2 separate regions of the Homo sapiens genome follow, and region 2 is linked to region 1. The links are contacts of gene promoters, found by promoter capture Hi-C in blood cells and fetal thymus (Javierre and others, 2016). All regions are on one chromosome and are shown on one strand. Each heading gives the region's core, a stretch centred on a gene start or on the middle of the fragment in contact. The rest is flanking DNA. Distances are from core to core; before and after follow the strand shown.

Evidence for each region. Contacts are between HindIII fragments. The CHiCAGO score rates a contact against its expected background, and 5 or more counts as called.
Region 2: a contact is called between a fragment that was not itself captured here and the fragment with the promoter of SCNN1A in region 1, in 1 of 17 cell types (neutrophils). The highest score is 5.3, in neutrophils.

The regions. Positions count from the first base shown.
Region 1 is chr12:6,372,730-6,377,758 of GRCh38, forward strand. SCNN1A (sodium channel epithelial 1 subunit alpha) reads right to left here and starts at 2,834. Exons shown (of 13, transcript NM_001038.6): 1 at 2,776-2,834; 2 at 1,639-2,108. The coding sequence starts at 2,054. LOC105369626 (a long non-coding RNA gene) reads left to right here. Exons shown (of 4, transcript XR_931591.3): 4 at 426-846. It also overlaps a transcript of LTBR not described here. RefSeq lists enhancers at 1,241-1,845, 3,662-4,266. The HindIII fragment of the contact is 18,398 bases long and covers 1-5,029 here.
Region 2 is chr12:6,498,828-6,503,856 of GRCh38, forward strand. All of the region lies in intron 2 of NCAPD2 (non-SMC condensin I complex subunit D2), which reads left to right. Among named protein-coding and RNA genes, the nearest start is that of NCAPD2, 7.2 kb to the left of the region's middle. The HindIII fragment of the contact is 435 bases long and covers 1,436-1,870 here.

The sequences.
Region 1 (5,029 bases), core at 1,584-4,083:
AAGGGGTGAAGATGTCTGCAGGCAGCAGGGGGAGAAAAATGAGGCTAAGAGGAAGGACCCAAGAGAGCTCTGAAATGAGGCGGAAGCCACATCTGACTGGAAGTTTCATTCACTCAAAGCCCCACATCTTGGGTATTAAAAAGAGGCAGAGTTTTGGGATTAGGCGTAAACAGGATGAGTCACAGCTCAGTCACTCTCTCTGTGATGTTGTGACTTGCCTCTCTTTGCCTTAGTTTCCTCAAGTGTAAAATAGGGATAACAATAGCACCGGGCTTGTAAGATGTGAGAATGAAATGAGATACCCAAGACACCTTCGCAGCGTCTGTGCACACGGCAGCTTCCTAAGGAAATGGTCCCTACCTGGGACATTATACAGACGTTAATCAACGAAATGACCTGGCTTTTTTTTTTCTCTCTCTCTCCAGGACAGGACGTCCCACCCTTTCTTAGTCCGTAACGCACCTTTGGACATGATGGAATATACGAAGGGGCCTCCACCCACAGCATGACCAATCCCCAGCATCCAAAATCGCACACATACCAATATGTGCACACACACACTCACACCCACACCCATAAAGATTTTGCACTCCTTGAAGGTACACTAACTCACCATTTTTATCATACTTATCCCAGTGTGCCACAGTTACTGGCTTATATGCCTGTCTCTGCTATCTTATTTTATCTGTCTCCACAACACAGCAAACTACCTGGCCTTCAATAAAGGGCTTATGAATTATTCATGAATCCATTTTGCCAGGTGCCTAGCCCTGTGTCTGGCTTGAAGCAGGTGTTCCCAAGGTGTGGCATGGCTGAGTGAATACAAATAAAAGGTATACAAAAGCACTCAGCCCTGCCCTCCTCTCTTCTCCACGCTTACCACCTGCTCCGGTTTCCAGACCCAACATTGGCAAAGAGCACCGATGAAACCCAAAAGTTCAGGACACACCCAAGCACGTAAAGGTCAGGCACCTGGGCAGGTCAACAGTGCAGCATTTTAGCCTGGGTCTTTTGGGGGAAGAGCTTCACAAGGAGCTGCTCTCTAGCCTGACCCATTCTCCTTGTTCTGTAAGGCCCCTGCCCCCAGCCTTTGGGCTCACTTGCAGCCCTAACCTCCACGATCCCCCTCTTTGCTTTCTCCATAATAAATTCCCCTTCTAAACAAAGACTGACAGCACCACCTCCACAGCACCTGCACGGTCTCGCCTCCCCTCACCTAGCCTCACCCCTCCATCAGACTCTCCTGCTGAGGTGGACGAGGTCTTATACTTTGCTGGCATCTTGCTCCAGAAAAGGGATGCAGCTGAGCACACCCCTGCCCTTTTGCAAGCACTCCCTCCCACTTGCAGGAGGGAGAAGGGAATGGGAGGGAAGGAGAAGAGAGGGCAGGGGAGGGCAATGCTGCTCCAACAACCACACTCTGGGTGAGCCTGGGGTGCTAGGATGGCTCCACTGGGCAGGGACGCCAGTCCAGTAAGCTGGAGGCTCCTCATTTTGCCAGCAGTGAGCTCTACCTGGGACAGGGGTGTCAGTTCCCACCCTCAGGTCTGAGGCTCTGCCTGCCCAGTGAGCACCTCAGCACCCTGGACCACCCTTCCAGGCGCAGGCACCAGGGAAGGGGCAGAGGGACTAACCGACCTGTAGGGATTGAGGGTGCAGATGGTCACTGCGGGGAAGACGAGCTTGTCCGAGTTGAGGTTGATGTTGAGGCTGACGGGGTAGCTGAAGTACTCTCCGAAAAGCAGGCCGAATTGCCAGTACATCATGCCAAAGGTGCAGAGCCACAGCACTGCCCAGAAGGCCGTCTTCATGCGGTTGTGCTGGGAGCACACCAGGCGGATGGCGCCGTGGATGGTGGTGTTGTTGCAGAAGAACTCGAAGAGCTCTCGGTAGGAGCGGTGGAACTCGATCAGGGCCTCCTCCTCCGCCGTGGGCTGCTGGGGCGCCGCAGGTTCGGGGCCCAGCCCCTGCTCCTCACGCTTGTTCCCCTTCATGAGCCCTGGAGTGGACTGTGGAGGGCTAGAGTCCTGCTCCTCCAGCTTGTTCCCCTCCATGAGACCTGGTATGGGCTGCAGAGGTCTAGGGTCCTGCTCCTCCAGCTTGTTCCCCTTCATGAGCCCCGGAGTGGATTGGGGAGAGCAAGGGTCAGGGTCAAGGCTGAGCTCTGGGCCCTGAGTGCCCTCTCCCATCACCCCTGGAACCCGAGTGAGGCTGCCCCTGGCCATGCCCATGTCCCACCCTGCGCCCACATTCTCCCACTCCTCCCTCCCTCCTCCACCTTTCCTGGAGCCAGCAGACCTGCGGGAGTTGGGGCCAAAAGTGCCGGAGCTGGGCTTCCCTAGAACGGCCTCTCCTCTGCTTCCCTGATAGGGCCACCTTTCGAGTTTTGTCCTAGCACCTCCCTTTCTGTCTCTGCCCCCTTCCTTTGGTCTTCTTCCTCCAGGATCTGTGTCTCAGCTCCTGCCTCTCACTCCCTCTCTATCTGCCTTCTGTTTCTCTTTGGGTCTCTCCTGCTCTCCTCTTTCTGGCCTGCCTCCTCTCTCTAATCCTGCCTCTCTTCCTCTCCCCCCCTTGCCTTGCCCCCTCTCACTCTAGGCCCTCAGCTCCAGCCTCTGGCCCTGACCTCGAGCTGTGTCCTGATTCTGTCTCTGCCCCAGGACTGCAGGGCTCCAGGAGGTCTGGGCTGCCTCCAGCTTCCCACTCCCAGGTTGCGGCTGGACTGGGACTGGTTCCTTTCCAGTTGAATCTGGCAGCCAAACCTCTCCTCCCCCTCACCTGACAGGTGCAGCGGCCTGGCTGGGGAGCCCGCCCGCTGGCCGGCCAGGGATGGAAGCGACAGGAATCTCATTAGCATCTCAATTAAAGGTGAGCAGGGCGGGGGGAGGGGCTGAGGAGGAGTCAGAGCCGGGAGTTTTCCGAAGGAAGGAGGGCTCCCGAGGGCAGGTGAACTGGGAGTACTGGACCTGAGAAGGCGGACTCTGGGCAGGGGCTTTAGACGCAGACAGGCAAGGAGGCTGGGGGACAGGATGGCAGGTGAGGGGCAAAGATCTGAACAAGTAGAAGGATCCTGAGCCCACAGCTAGGAGGGCAACACAAGGAGAAGGGGCCAGCCAGGCTGAGAGGGCCTGGGTGGGGAACCGGGAGGACAGGAGGGCAGAAAGAGGGAGACAATAGAGAGGGACAGCGAAGGACAGAGAGATAGGGATGGAGGAGGGGCACTGAGTGAGTAGAGGCAGGTGGGGGGCAGTGGTGGGGGCAAATAGAAGGAGCCAGCACCAAAGGGAGTCTGTCTCCAGGAAGGAGAGCAAGGGGGGAGTCCCAAGTGTGCTTCCAGGAGCTAGAGGCTCAGCAAGTGGGCAGCCCTCCAAGGGCACCCACAGGTCAGCCTCACCCTCAGGCCCTGCAGAGAAGAGAGAAGAGGTCTCTGCAGGTCTCCTCCCCGCTCACTAAGTGGGAGCAGCGCACTCAGGTGGGATGCGTCTGCCTCCTCCTGGTCCCTCCTCTTTCCTGCTGATTCCTCGCCACCCCCTCCAACCTTGTCCAGACCCGGGAGGGGCCCAGGTGAAGCTGGGGGCTAGGCGGGGCCCTAGGACATTCTGTTCTTTTTTACACTGTTGGCTGCCAGGCCAGGAATGTGTAATCGCCCCTGCTGTGGTCACAGAGTTGCAGGAATGTGGGCAACCAGAGGCAGCGCGAGGGCCACGCAGGACACTGTGGACACAGACCCGGAGCCCAGGAAGAGGCAGGGAAAGCAGGCACTGAAGGTGCAGGGAGGATGTGGCCAGCGCTGGAAAGGAAGAGGGTGGGCATGGCACACGCCTAGACAGGCCCTGGGAGGAGGAGAAATTCGTTGATGGGCTATATTTTCTCCAAAATCTCTTTCCAAACTTAATGCAGCAAAAGGATAAGGAGTGGAGTGCCAAGTGGTGAGCAAGGAGAGAGAGGAGGGTCAGAGAATCAGACCCAAAAAGGGCTGGAGGAGACTCGGGAGAGCCACCCACACAACCCAGGCCCTGCACGCGGCAGGGAAGGCTGCCGCTTCCTCACGGGCCCCACAGGAGGCAGCCCAGAGTGCAGGAATGTGGTCACTGGCTTGTCCTGCCTCCCTCCACAAGCCAGCAGACAAAGGCCCAGCCTGAGCATTGATACACACCGGGGGAGGAGATAGGCCTGCAATACAATAAGATAAGGTTTCTATTTGTACACTTTAAAAGATTGTCTTTAAAACGGACTTCTAACAAAAGTGCAGATCTCAGATTTCTCAGAGATAAGACATAAGAGCCAAGGGCTAGGGGAGCCTAGGGGCTCACTGCAGGAGACTCAGGAAGCCTTCCCAGAGAAGGTGTCATCTCTGCTGAATCTTGACAAGCAAGGAGTTTAGCAGGCAAAGAAGAGAAAAGGCAGTACTCCAGGCTCAGGGTCCAACCTGGTCTGTGGCTTCCTCTCTTGCGGCAGTCTCTTGCGACTTCTTAAAGTGAAAGCCGGTGTCAACCAGGATTCCAAACCAGGTTCCCTTGCTTACCTTGATACTGCTCATGATACCTCCCCTTGGAAGGGACAGCTGGATTTTTCTTCATTGTCCTAATGAAGAAACTGACCCTTCCCAAGGATAAATCAGTTTTCTGAGGTTAGAAAACAAAATAGGAGCAGAGCTATAAACAGAATTCAGAATTCTCCTCCTCCTCTGGGGCTATCTACTTAGCGCTTTTGCCATTTACTTCCTGAGACAGACTCATGGGGGATCGGGGCTCAGGTGCACCTGGATGTGAAAGCCGGGAAGGCCTCCCTCACTCCCACACAGAGCCCGTGGATTCGTCTGCTCTCTGGGTGCTGGGTTATCTCCTTGGCTCTGTGAAAAGGTCTCTGCACTGTCCCCACTGCCCCACATATCCCAGAGACCCCTAGAAACTCCAGTCTCCCTTGAGCCAGGTCCTTACATTGGGCATGGTCCTCCCTGCAATAAGGTGCTCAGCACCCTGGCTGTTTGATCTCAAAGGTTCTGAAAAGCACCTCCCTGCCTTTTCTATTT
Region 2 (5,029 bases), core at 403-2,902, 120 kb after region 1:
ATCTCCTGACCTTGGATCTGCCCACCTCGGCCTCCCAAAGTGCTGGGATTACAGGTGTGAGCCACTGCGCCTGGCCTGTTTAACAATAATATTAATAAAATAGAGCAATTGTAACTATGCCAGCATCACTACCCTTGCACTTTGGGGCCATTATTAAGTAAAATAAAGGTTCCTTGAACAGAAGCCCTGCAACAGTTGATCTGATAACCAAGGTGGCTACTAATGGGTGAGTAGGGTTGCATATACAGTGTGGATATGTTGGACAAAGGGATGGTTCACATCCCAGGCAGGAGGCGGCAGGGCAGCACCAGATTTTATGCTACTCAGAATGACACACAACCTACAATTTATGAATTGTGTATCTCTGGAATATTTCTTTCTTTCTTTCTTTTTATTTTTTTAAGATAAGGGTCTTGCTTTGTTGACCAGGCTGGAGTGCAGTGGCTCAATCTCAGCCCACTGCAACCTTCACCTCCTGGGCTCAAGCAATTCTCCTGCCTCAGTTTCCCAAGCAGCTGGGACTACAGGTAAGTGCCACCACGCCTGGCTAATTCTTGGGGGGTTTTTTTGTTGTTCTGGAGACGGAGTTTTGCTCTGTCGCCCAGGTTGGAGTGCAGTGGCAAGGTATCGGCTCACTGCACCCTCCACCTCACAGGTTCAAGCAATTCTCCTGCTTCAGCCTCCCAAGTGGCTGGAATTACAGGTGCCCACCACCACATCCAGCTAATTTTTTTTGTATTTTTTAGTAGAGCTGGGGTTTCACCATGTTGGCCAGGCTGGTCTCGAACTCCTGACCTCAGGTGATCTGCCCAACTTGGCCTCCCAAAGTTCTGGGATTATAGGCGTGAGCTACTGTGCCCAGCCTATTTCTGGAATATTTCATTTAATATTTTCAGACTTGAGATTGACCACGGGTAACTGAAACCCCAGAAAGTGAGAACACAGATTGGTGAGGACCACTGTGTGTAAGATGGTTGTAAGAGCCAAAGAGAAAAATAAAGAAGACAGTGTGGCCAGGCGCAGTGGCTCACACCTGTAATCCTAGCACTTTGGGAAGCCAAGGTGGTTGGATTGCTCAAGCTCAGGGGTTTGAGACCAGCCTGGCCAACATGGTGAAACCCCATCTCTACCAAAATTACAAAAAAGTTAGCCAGGCGTGGTGGTGCACACCTGTAGTTCCAGCTACTTGGGAGGCTGGGGTGGGAGAATTGCTTGAGCCCAGGAGGCAGGGGCTGCAGTGAGCCATGATCATGCCACTGCACTGCAACCTGGCCACAGAGCTAGACCCTGTTTCAAAAAAGAAAAAAAAAGAAGTGTACTGGGAATGGTGGCTTGTCCCTGTAATCCCAACCACTTGGGAGGCAGAAGCAGGATTGTTAAGGCCAGGAGTTCAAGACCAGCTTGGGCAACATAGTCTCTAAAATTAATTATACAAAGCTTAAAAATAAATAATATAAAGAAGAAGATAGTAGGACCTGTCATTTCATGTTGGATCATCAGAGAAGGCTTGCTGTTACGTCACGTTTGAGCAGAGACCTTAAGAAAGTAAGGAAATAAACTATGCAGATTGTTAGGGAAGAGCATTCCAAGCAAACAGAAAAGCCTATGCAAAGGCCTTGAGGTGGGCAAATGCCAATAGAGTTGGAGTGCATTAAGCTAGGAAAAAGAGATTAGGTAGGAAGTGGTACAGATTATTCTAGAATCTTGCTCCTCAAAATGTGGTCCTCAGATCAGCAGTGTTAATATCAGGATCTCATGATCTGGGAGCTTATTAGAAATGCAGGATGTCAAGGCCCAGGATGTCAAAGCTGCTGAATCAGGAAATCTGTATTTTAAGAAGATTCCCCCAGGCAATTTGGATGCAATTATAAGCTTGAGAAGCACTGATCTCTAGAGCCTCGTAGATCATGGCAAAAACTTGAACTTCAGTGTGAATGAACTTGAAAGCCATTGGGTTTTGAGCATGGGAGTGACATGGTCTGACATTTTAAAAGATTCACTGGCGACTGTGTTGAGCAGAGACTATAAGAGGCAAGGAGAGAAGCAGGGATACTAGTTAAGTGGCTAATACAGTAATACCAAGTAGATTGGACTGGAGGGATAGCAGGGGAAGTGGTGATAAAACGACTCAGGATATATTTTCAAAGTAGAGCTTTTACAGGAATGCTGATGGATTGGATTGGATTATAGGGTTAGTAAAGGAATCTGAGATGAGAATGATTACAAGGCTTTTTTTTTTTTTTTTTGACAGTCTTGCTCTGTTGGCTCTGTCACCCAGGTTGGCGTGCAGTGGCGTGATCTTGGCTCGCTGCAACCTCTGCCTCCCAGGTTCAAGCAATTCTCATGCCTCAGCCACCTGAGTATCTAGGATTACAGGTGTGCACCACCACGCCTGGCTAATTTTTTTTTTTTTTTTTTTTTTTTTTTTTTTTAGGCAGAGTCTCGCTCTCTCGCCCAGGCTGGAGTGCAGTGGCACCATCTCGGTTCACTGCAAGCTCCGCCTCCCAGGGTCACGACACCTGGCTAATTTTTGTATTTTTAGTAGAGATGCGGTTTTGCCGTGTTGTCCAGTCTGGTCTTGAACTTCTGGCCTCAAGTGATCTGCCTGCCTCGGCCTCCCAAAATGTTGGGATTACAGGCGTGGGCCACCACACCCGGCCTTACAAGGCTTTTTGACTTGAGCAACTAGAAGAATGAAGTTGCCATTTACTGAGATGGGGTAGCATATGGGAGGGAGAGGTTTAGATTGTTGGTTATGTGAGTGCAGAGTTCAAGGGAGAGGTTGTCAGCTAAAGATACACATTTAGGATTTAATACTCAGCGTGTAGACAGCACTTAAAGCCATGAGATTGCAGTGAGTGTAGATGGAGAAGAGCAGCAGTTTGAAGACCAAGACCTGAGACAGTCCAGCATTTAGAGGCTAGGAGGATGAAGAAGAACCAGTAGAAGAAATTAAGAAGCAGTCATTGGGGCAGAAAGCGAATGAAGGAGCTAAATGGACGCTAAATAAAGAGAGTGTTTCAAAAACAAAAGAGAGGTCAACTGCAGATTAACTACTGGATTTATTGATGTCATAGTCACTGGTAACCTTGACAAAGCTGTTTCAGGAGATGGTGGGGGCAAAAGCCTGCTAGGAATAGGTTTTTAAGAAAATGGAATGACAGAGATTAGAGATGATGAATTTACATAATGTATTTCTTTTAAGATGGGCAGCATTATGTGTGTCTATATTGAGTAGGAATGATCAGAGAGGGAAAAGCTGATGCTGCAGAAGGAAGAGGGAACAGTTGTTGGAGCAGTGCCTTTAGTAGGTAAGAGAGTACGTGATCTGGTACACGGGGAGGAGATGGCTTTATCAGAACATGGACAGTTTATCCACAGTAGCAAAAAAAAAAGGCAGAGTGTATGTATGGGCATAGATGCAACTAGTGCAGGTAAATATAGAGCTTGGGGCAGTTGAAAGTTCTCTTCTGTCTGCTTCTGTTTCCTCAATAGGAAGGGAAAGCCTTTAACTGAGAGTGAGTTTGGGAAGAAGGTCATGGTGTTATGAGCAGAGGATAGGTGTGAAATAATTGCCTAGAAGAAAACGAATAGACTTGGGAGTACGAATGCCCACTTCAGGTTAGTAGTCATGAGTTTAACGTAAGACTAGTCAGCTTGTTTCTGTGTTTTTCTCAGGCCATTTTTATTTGTGTGGTCACATGAATGGAGTAACCAGAAAGTTGGTTTAACCTAGATTTGCCAGGGGAGTATGTGTTGTTGTTGTTGTTAATTAGTGGAATAAGTTACAAGTATCACAGTATCTAACAATAGGGGAATAGTAAATTAAGATAGATATAAGGCCGAGTGTGGTGGCACTGCCTGTAGTCCCAGCTACTCAGAAGGCTGGGGCAGGAGGATCGCTTGAACCCAGAAGTTTGAGGCTGCAGTAAGCTATGATCCTGCACTGCACTTCGGCCTGCGCAACACAACAAACCCTGTCTCAAAAAAAATTGTTTACAAAGGTGTTTTTGTTGTTGTTGTTGTTGTTGCTTTTTTTTTGAGACGGAGTCTCACTCTGTCACCCAGGCTGGAATACAGTGGCACTATCTCGGCTCACTGCAACCTCCTCAGTTCAAGCGATTCTCCTGCCTCAGCCTCCTGAGCAGCTGGGATTACAGGCGCATGCCACCACACCTGGCTTTTTTTTTTTTTTTTTTTTTGTATTTTTATTAGAGACGGGGTTTCACCATGTTGGTCAGGCTGGTCTCGAACTCCTGACCTGATGATCCACCTGCCTCAGCCTACAAAGTGTTGGGATTACAGGCGTGAGCCACCACGTCTGGCCTACAAAGGTTTCTAATACACTTACTGTAATGCTAAATTTTAAAAAGCATGACAGAGAAGTGAATATGTGATACAAGCTCAACAATGGAAATACGATGTATAGAAAATGGACTGAGAAAAATATGCTGTTATAACTGAATGCCTGAGACTGGATATTTATAATGAAAGAAATTTATTGGCTCACATTTTTTTCTGGAGACTGGGAAGTCCCAAATCAATGCACCAGTAACTGGCAAGGGCCTTCTTGCTGCATTGTCACAGGGCAGAAGGCAGAAGGGCACAAGTGAACCCACTCCCCAGAGCCCTTTTTATAATAGTATGAATATATCGGTGAGGGGTTGGGCACGGTGGCTCACACCTGTAATCCCAGCACTTTGGGAGGCCGAGGCGGGCAGATCACAAGGTCAGGAGTTCGAGACCAGCCTGGCCAATATGGTGAAACCCCGTCTCTACTAAAAATACAAAAAATTAGCCGGGTGTGGTGACGCGTGCCTGTAATCCCAGCTACTCAGGAGGCTGAGGCGGGAGAATCACTTGAACCTGGGAGCCGGAGGTTGTAGTGAGCCGAGATCGTGCCACTGCACTTCAGCCTGGGTGACAGAGCGAGACTCCATCTATTTTTTTTTTTTTTTTAAAAAAGATGGTGAAACCCCGTCTCTACTAAAAAATAGAAAAATTAGCTAGGTGTGGTGGCAGGCACCTG